Regions from separate parts of the Homo sapiens genome. Here region 1 is linked to region 2. Evidence: promoter capture Hi-C in 16 types of primary human blood cells and fetal thymus (Javierre and others, 2016). All regions are on one chromosome and are shown on one strand. Each heading gives the region's core, a stretch centred on a gene start or on the middle of the fragment in contact. The rest is flanking DNA. Distances are from core to core; before and after follow the strand shown.

The links. Contacts are between HindIII fragments. The CHiCAGO score rates a contact against its expected background, and 5 or more counts as called.
Region 1: a contact is called between a fragment that was not itself captured here and the fragment with the promoter of LY6D in region 2, in 1 of 17 cell types (non-activated CD4 T cells). The highest score is 5.0, in non-activated CD4 T cells.

What each region holds. Positions count from the first base shown.
Region 1 is chr8:143,333,915-143,337,826 of GRCh38, reverse strand. It overlaps TOP1MT (DNA topoisomerase I mitochondrial), which reads left to right and starts at 2,947. Exons shown (of 14, transcript NM_052963.3): 1 at 2,947-3,087. The coding sequence starts at 2,966. RefSeq lists a silencer at 2,790-3,249 and enhancers at 3,450-3,499, 3,039-3,723. The HindIII fragment of the contact is 2,627 bases long and covers 799-3,425 here.
Region 2 is chr8:142,784,961-142,789,253 of GRCh38, reverse strand. LY6D (lymphocyte antigen 6 family member D) reads left to right here and starts at 2,715. Exons shown (of 3, transcript NM_003695.3): 1 at 2,715-2,789; 2 at 3,567-3,665; 3 at 3,798-4,293. The coding sequence starts at 2,738. The coding sequence ends at 4,033. The HindIII fragment of the contact is 15,715 bases long and covers 1-4,293 here.

The DNA.
Region 1 (3,912 bases), core at 863-3,362, 550 kb before region 2:
ACTACCAGGCCTGGGGTGTGGCGCCGGGCTGTTTGACTATTGAATTTCACTTCTGCCTTTTCTTTAACTCCTACTTTTTCTTTTCTTTGAGGCAGAAATTAGGCAGAAGACAATATGAGAGGTGGTCTCCTCCCTTACTACAGGTGTACACCATCATGCCTGGCTAATTTAAAAATCTTTAGTACAGATGGGGTCTTGCTGTGTTCCCTGGGCCAGTTTTGAAGTTTTGAAATCAGCAAGTATGAATCCTCCAACTTTGTTATTCTTTTTCAAACATTGTTTTGGCTATTCTGGGTCCCTTGTATTTCCCTGTGAATTTTAGGATCAGGTTGTCAATTTCTGTAAAAACGCCAGCTGGAATTTAGATGGGGATTGTATTGAGTTTTTGGATCAGTTTGGGGAGTATTGCCGTCTTTTTTTTTGAGACGGAGTCTTGCTCTGTTGCCCACGCTGGAGTGTAGTAGCGTGATCTCGGCTCACTGCAAGCTCTGCCTCCTGGGTTCACGCCATTCTCCTGCCTCAGCCTCCCAAATAGCTGGGACTACAGGCGCCTGCTATCATGCCAGGCTAATTTTTTTAGTAGAGACGTTTTAGCCAGGATGGTCTCGATCTGACCTCGTGATCCGCCCGTCTCGGCCTCCCAAAGTGCTGGGATTACAGGCGTGAGCCACTGCACCTGGCCAATGCTGTCTTAACCATATGAAATCATCCAGTCCGTGAACATGGGATGGCTGCTCATTTATTTAGGCTGTCTTTAATTTCTTTGGGCAATGTTTTACAGTTTTCAGAGTATAAGCTTGATACTTCCTTTGTTAAATTTATTGTGCAGTATTTTATTTTTTCATGCTATAATAAATTATTTTCTTAATTTCATTTTCAGTTTGCGTATGGCTACTGGTTAGAAATACAACTGATGTTTGCATATTGATCTTGTACCCTACAATTGTGCTGAATTCATCTATTAGCTCTACTAGTTTTTGTGGATTCTTTTTTAAATTTTATTTTCCATAGAGATAGGGTCTCACTATGTTGCCCAGGCTGGTCTTGAACTCCTTGGCTCAAGTGATCCACTTGCTTTGACCTCCCAAAGTGCTTGGATTACAGGCATGAGCTACGGTGCTCGGCCAATTTTTGTGGATTCTTTGGGATTTTCTATATACAAGATTATGCCACCTGCAAATAGACATAATTTACTTCTTTCTTTCTGATCTGGGTGTCTTATTTCATCTGCTTGCCTGTTTGCTCAGTTAGAGCCTCTGGTACCATGTTGAGAGGCAGTGGTGAGAGTGGACATCCTCGTCTTATTCTTCATTTCAGCAGGAGCGTCCAGTCTTTCTTCTGGCATATGAGGTTAGCTGCGGGGTTTTGTAGATGCTGCTTTTCAGGTTAAGTTTCTTTCTATTCTGTTCTTGAGTGGGTTTTCCATTCTGTTTATCATGAAATGGTGCTGGATTTGTCTGCTGCTTTTTCTGCATCTATTGAGAAATCTTAGGGTTTTTGTCCTGCCACACTCCCTCTTACAAAACCTGAGGAACCAACTGGGCATCGGCTCACACCTGAAATCCCAGCACTTTGGGAGGCCAAGGTACTTGAGCCCAGGAGTTCGAGACCAGCCGGGGCAACATAGGGAGACCCCATCTCTACAAAAAGTAAAAAACAAAAAATCAAAAACCCTTAGAAACCTGAACTGGAAAACACATTGACCTCAGGATTCCGTTGAAGGAATGGTGGGCCTGGGCCAAGGCCCTCTTCTGGTTTGTAGAAAGGGTTACCTGAAAAAATATGCATCACTGTTCCGCAGCCCCTGGGAGGAGGTGGCCCACCTGGAGAGTCAGCTGCTGTGTCCTGGTGTGTGTGTACCTTCAGCTGCTGAGCTGCTCATTCTGAAATGATGGGACACCTACCAGGTCTGCCTGGGCCCTAAGAGCGAGCAATTGCAGCCCTCGGCCTCTGCCCATGGCTTCCAGCAGCTAGATGACATGGACACTGAGTCAGTTGGTGGCAGGGGAGGGTCGCTGAGGGCGTGCGGTGGCAGCCCGGACTCCTTTCCTGCCTGTGTCCACTGCATTCCCCCCAACGGTCACAGTGAAAGTGCGGAATGCATGTGAATTCATCTGCTTCCCACGGTCCTGGTGTCAGGGTTTTACCGGGGAAGACCAAGGCTGCGGTGCTGCCAGAGGTGAGCGGTGTGGCCTGTTGTGGCTCAGGGCCTACCGCCAAGTGCTGATCTAGAGGTTTTGCCCCTTGGCCATGCTCCCCAGTGAAGACACTGGGGTTAAACCCTGGTCAGGGTCAGCAGTCACGCTGGGGACTGAGCGCAGGAAGGAGGCTCCAGCTGTGCCTGGTCTCTGGTCTCCTTGGGAGTGAGAGGCTGGTTGGCAGGGATGATTTCGCAGGACTTCCTGTGACCTTTGTCCAGAGGCACCACCTCTGAGGGGCTGCTGTGGGCTGGACAGCAGGTGCTTCTGCCGGTTTCTGCGTCCTGGAAGTGCTGCTGTTTGTAGGGGATGAGGTAGGGGGCCATCTGAGCCTGTGTGGTCCCTTCTCCAGAGCAGCAGAGCGTGTACTTAGGAAGGACCTGCTAGGTGCCCCTGCCCTCAGAGGCTCTGGGAGAGAGCTGTGTGCAAGCCCTGGGCAGGAGTTCACTGGCCTGGTCGTGTGACCTGTGGGGCATCCTGACAGCCAGCCCTGTGCTGCAGAGGTCAGTGGGACTGGGTTTGGATCTGGGTCCCCGCCCAGCGTGAAGGGGCGCTGGACCACGAAGGCAGGGAAACCAGGGGGAGGCCGGCAGGACAGTCAGTGGTCCTGCTGCCGCAGCCCCGTGCAGGCTTAGACCGCCCAGCCTTGGGATGAGCGCCGCTGGGGGCGGAGGCCGCGCTCGGGGGCGGGGCTGGCCGCTGGGGGCGGGGCGGGGCTGGCCGCTGGGGCGGGGCCCAGCTTGTCGCTCTTTCCCGGAGGCTGGCAGATGCGCGTGGTGCGGCTGCTGCGGCTCCGGGCGGCTCTGACGCTGCTCGGGGAGGTCCCCCGCCGCCCGGCCTCCCGGGGTGTCCCGGGCTCGCGCAGGACGCAGAAGGGCAGTGGAGCCAGGTAAGGTGTCCCAGTGAGCAGGCGGCGAGGGCCCTGAGCACCGGGCTTGGGTAGGTCCAGAAAGGGGAGTGGCAGGCCTCGTGGGACGGCCTTGCCCTGCTTCCGGTTTTCCCAAAAGTCGGGCCAGGAGAGCATGCGTGCCGCGGTGTGACCGGCCCGCCTCCTGCCCGGGGTGTACAGGCCCCCCCATGACGTCGCCCTTGCTTCCCCAGGCACCACCCCACCAACCCTATTTGGGGAAATCTCCCCTCTTTTTTTCCGCTTGTGGTTTCATCATTTGTGTAGCTGTGCCTGGGCCTCAACACTGTAGGGTTTGGTTAGGTACTTTATAAAAAGCTTATGTTGCTGTGCATGGTCTTCTGAGACCCGCTCTTTCCTGGAGTCGGTTCCCGGGTTGTCTCCAGGACCGATTCTGCATGGCGGCGGGCGCTCACTGTCATATCTACATCACCAGGCACAAGCCGCATGGATCCAGTGGCCCTGGTGGCCGTTGGTGGTCCCAGGCGCTTTCCTGGAGGACATGTGAGAAGCCCTGCCGGCGCATACTGGGCCTGGGGTAGCCGCATGGGGATGGGTCTCTGCGCATGAAATGCTGGAGTTTCCGAAGAGCTGGAGAGTTGACAGCCTCACTGGTGCGTGGGAGATCCTGCAGGAGTTCCCGCCAGGTCTCGCGGTTTATCATCATTCACTTAGTGCTTCCAGCGTGGCATGTCTCTGTGACCTGGTGGTGCGCTATCAGCATACCCATTCACAGCTGAGGGCCTGCACAGCTGCCTAAGGCCATGCTGCAGAAATGTCCTGTCTGCCTGCAGGAGCTTGGGACCC
Region 2 (4,293 bases), core at 1,466-3,965:
AGGCCCCTTCGTCGCCTCTCCCAGGTGTCATTTCTGCTGCCAATACCCTGATGGTACCAACCAGGCCCAGGGCCCCAGCTCCAGGGGCTGAGTGGGAGGGGTGGAGTGGGGGAGGGCCCAGGCCCTAGAGAACAGAGGAGGGAGGAGGGGGGAAAGGCTGGCGGTGATAGTGAGAAGTGCTTGAGACCCCACCAGGTTCTGCCCCAGAACGTGCCTGGAGCTCTCTGGCCCTCACTTCCTCACCAGTGAACAAGCACTGGGCAGGGACTGACATGAGGGGCCACAGTGTCTCCTCTCCACATTCCAATCCCTGGCTCTGAGGCTCTAGTCAGGTCACTGCCTACAAGAAACCCTCCCTGACTGCACTGTCCCCAGAAGCTCAGCTGTCCAAGGGCTCCTGGCATCAGAAGCACCCGCTTTCTCCTGAAAGTGAACTGTGTAGGGCTGCTGTTCATGCTTTTGCTAGGACCACCTGGGATGGGCAGCTCATCCTCGTGGGCAGCCCTGCCAGGTCAGAGGCCCTCATCCCACAAAACTGGAACCCCGCTCCGGCTCCCATGCCTGGCAGGGACGCAGCCACAGTGATGCCTGAGGTGTCCCACGGGGGTGAGCCAGGTGTGCAGGGCCCTCCTCCAGCCCCAGGTGTGGGGAGCACACTCCCCCATGGCCCCACACTCAGAACCCACTCTCAGGCCACCTGACATCCCGGACCCTCCAGCTCCACCAGACCCAGCAGGAATTCCAAACCTGTTTTTCCAGCAGCTCTCATGCCCCTGGCCACAGTGAGTCACCCTCCCCACCTGCCATGCCCACCGAGTCATCACCCCGCCACCAAGCCCTGAGCTCTGCCTCCCAAGGCCCCTGGAAGCACCTTCCCCCAAGCTGCCCATGCCTCTCACTGTGACCCATGGACACAGGGCCTTGGAGCTGGAGGAAACCTCCTCTCTCTGGGTGGGGGCATGGACCTTTGGGTCACCTGCCTTGGCAAGTGAGACTACACACGTCCCCACCAAGCTCCAGCCAGGGCCAGGCACCAGATGCAAATGTGGGGCTGCCCCAGGGGGCTCCCGCCTGCACCCTGGTTTCTAAAGGCACCACCAGGCAACCCCTCCTGTAGGTGGATCCTCCAGGCCCCGGCACTGTGTCAGGGAGAGCCCGGCCAGGAGCATTCTCAGGAGACATTTGCTGGGATCCCCGGCATCTGAGACGTGGGGCTCAGCAAGGGAGAGATGCCGGGAGGAAGGGCCAGAGGGTCTGTCTCAAGCCCAGGCCTGACTGGCCCCAGTACCCACGGTGCTCCCAAAAGCCTCAGCCCAGCCCAGGACCACCCTCCTCGGAACCGGCCCTGCCCTGCCCTGGGCCTGTTGTTGTCTGTTCATCAGCCACGTGGCAGCGGCGGCAGGAGGCTGGGCCCAGGGCTGACCTCCATCTGTGCCCCGGCTCCCACTCACCTTCAGCCTAGCCAGGGCAGGGGCAAAGCAAGTCTGTGGGCCCCTCCACACCACTCAGGTGGGTGCTGCCCAGCACAGGCGAGCGGCAGAGCGTGCTGGGCTGAGCAGGTGGATGGGGGCCCCAAGAGGTGGGCTCCTGCGCGAGGCGGTGGGTGCTCAGAGACCCCGTCTCCAGGGAAAGAAAGTCCCTCCTGTGAGTATAAAGAGGGTGAAGGCGGGGACTGGCCTCCACTCAACGGGCAGCAGACCAAGAACCTGCTTTGAGGCCCTGGGTGCTGGGGCCCAGCCCCAAAGAGTTCACGATTTTGGGGAGACTGGAGCCGGGACACCTAGAGCAATAGTTACAAAGTGGCCGGGATGGCGCTGCCCCCAACGTAGCAGGAGGGGCCTGGAGAGTGGGGGAAGGAATCCCACGGGGAGGGCTTCTGGGGCCCTGGAGGGCGGGAGGCAGGGCTGGTGGAGACCAGGAGGGCTCAGTCTCTCCCTGCACAACGCAGGGTGGAGTTGCTGCCTCCACAGCCCGGGCCTTCTGCCCACAGGGCTCCCCAGGCAACTTCGAGGGCCGGGTCCTCACAGTCCTCACTCTGTCCAGTGCTCACCTCACTGCTGCCCCAGCTGCCCTCCCTGCCTCGGAGTGGCCTCTGCCTCTGCCTCTGCCTCACACACCCCATCAGCCCACAGCCACCCCGAGCCCTTGCAGCTCAAGGACCTTCTGCATCCCCGGCAGCAACCCTGAGCCCAGAGCCAGGAGAGTAGGACCAGCACCTGCCCTTCCTACCTCCCCTGCCCTGGACACCCACGGGCACCCACAGGGCACCGGGCACAGGCTGCAACTCTATTGAGGGAACTATGGGGGGAATGCAGGGACAAAGACACAGGATGGTGATGGATGGTGGGGGGTGGGGGGCGGGGGGTAGCGGGTGGCAGGTCAGAGACAAAGTGACCCAGGAACGGACGGCAGCGAGAGAACAAGACCCACAGAGACAGAGAAGTGAAAGTGGGAGAGATGGAGGCACAGCAGCAGGAACAGCAGGGCCAGGAGGCCACTGGGCCCCGTTGCGGAGGGCAGACCTCTGCCTGGCGGGGGGCAGCAGGGGCAGCGCCCAGCGACAGCCAGGCTGGTGGGCGTGGGCCAGGCAGGGTGGGGCAGGTGCCCGTCCTGGGCTGACGCTTGCACAGAGCCCTGCAGAATGCCGCTGGCTGGCGGACTGCCCACCCCCGCCCAGCCCGTGCCTATAAGGCCTTGGCAATGCAGGGGCCCGCACTGCTCCCAGACGACATCAGAGATGAGGACAGCATTGCTGCTCCTTGCAGCCCTGGCTGTGGCTACAGGGCCAGGTGAGGGGCTGGGCCAAGGGGACGGGCGGGTGGGCGGCTGTGGCCTGTGTGGTCACCAAATACTAGGAGCCTGGAGCTGACGACATCTAGGCACAGAGAACCCCGACACTGTGGGTGCTAGACTCTTCAAATTTAAAACAACATGGAGCCCGAATCTTAACGAGTGTCAGATTTACAATGTTTCAGAATCTGAGGATCTTAGAACTGACTCCTGGAGTCACGGACCCTGAGAGAGTGGAGCAGGGGGTTGTCTTGAGATGCTTCTCACTGGGAGAGCGGCCATCTAGTCCCTGCCACCAGCCCCTCCCGGTCCCCAGGTCTCCCCCAGCACAGCCCAGGACAGCCCAAAGGCCACCAAGCCCTTCCTGTCATAGGCTCAGAGCAGCCAAGCTGGCTGCCCCCGGGGCCTTAGCTCCGTCAGGCCCTCAGAAACATAGCCATCTCCTCCAGGGACATCCCCTGGGGTGGGGACAAGAGCCAGTGTCCTCTTGGCAGTCGCAGAGCTCCCTGAGACCTTGGAGGAAAGGCTTGCAACACACCCTAGACAGGGGCAGGGCAGGACACCTCTTCCAAGCCGGCCCAGGCTGGAATACATGTCCCCTGAGGCTGCACTCAGGGCACATGCCCTGCCAGGACCCAGAGCCCGGGTTTGGGGGCCTAGGGCAAGGGCAGCAGGGCCTCTGTCCAGGAGGGGTCTCTGCAGGTGGGGGAGCAGGCCCTGCTGAGTCACCAGGAGGCCTCTGTTGGGCCCGCTGAGCCGGACTCCCTCCCCGCCAGCCCTTACCCTGCGCTGCCACGTGTGCACCAGCTCCAGCAACTGCAAGCATTCTGTGGTCTGCCCGGCCAGCTCTCGCTTCTGCAAGACCACGAACACAGGTGGGTAGCATCTGTCCAGGTGTCCCTGGGGCTGGGGGACATCCCTGGCTGTTGTGGGTGTTGGCTGGAAGGTTGTGGGGAGGTGGGGGGCAGAGGTGGCTGCCTGGCCTGACCACACTCACCTGTGCCCAGTGGAGCCTCTGAGGGGGAATCTGGTGAAGAAGGACTGTGCGGAGTCGTGCACACCCAGCTACACCCTGCAAGGCCAGGTCAGCAGCGGCACCAGCTCCACCCAGTGCTGCCAGGAGGACCTGTGCAATGAGAAGCTGCACAACGCTGCACCCACCCGCACCGCCCTCGCCCACAGTGCCCTCAGCCTGGGGCTGGCCCTGAGCCTCCTGGCCGTCATCTTAGCCCCCAGCCTGTGACCTTCCCCCCAGGGAAGGCCCCTCATGCCTTTCCTTCCCTTTCTCTGGGGATTCCACACCTCTCTTCCCCAGCCGCAACGGGGGTGCCAGGAGCCCCAGGCTGAGGGCTTCCCCGAAAGTCTGGGACCAGGTCCAGGTGGGCATGGAATGCTGATGACTTGGAGCAGGCCCCACAGACCCCACAGAGGATGAAGCCACCCCACAGAGGATGCAGCCCCCAGCTGCATGGAAGGTGGAGGACAGAAGCCCTGTGGATCCCC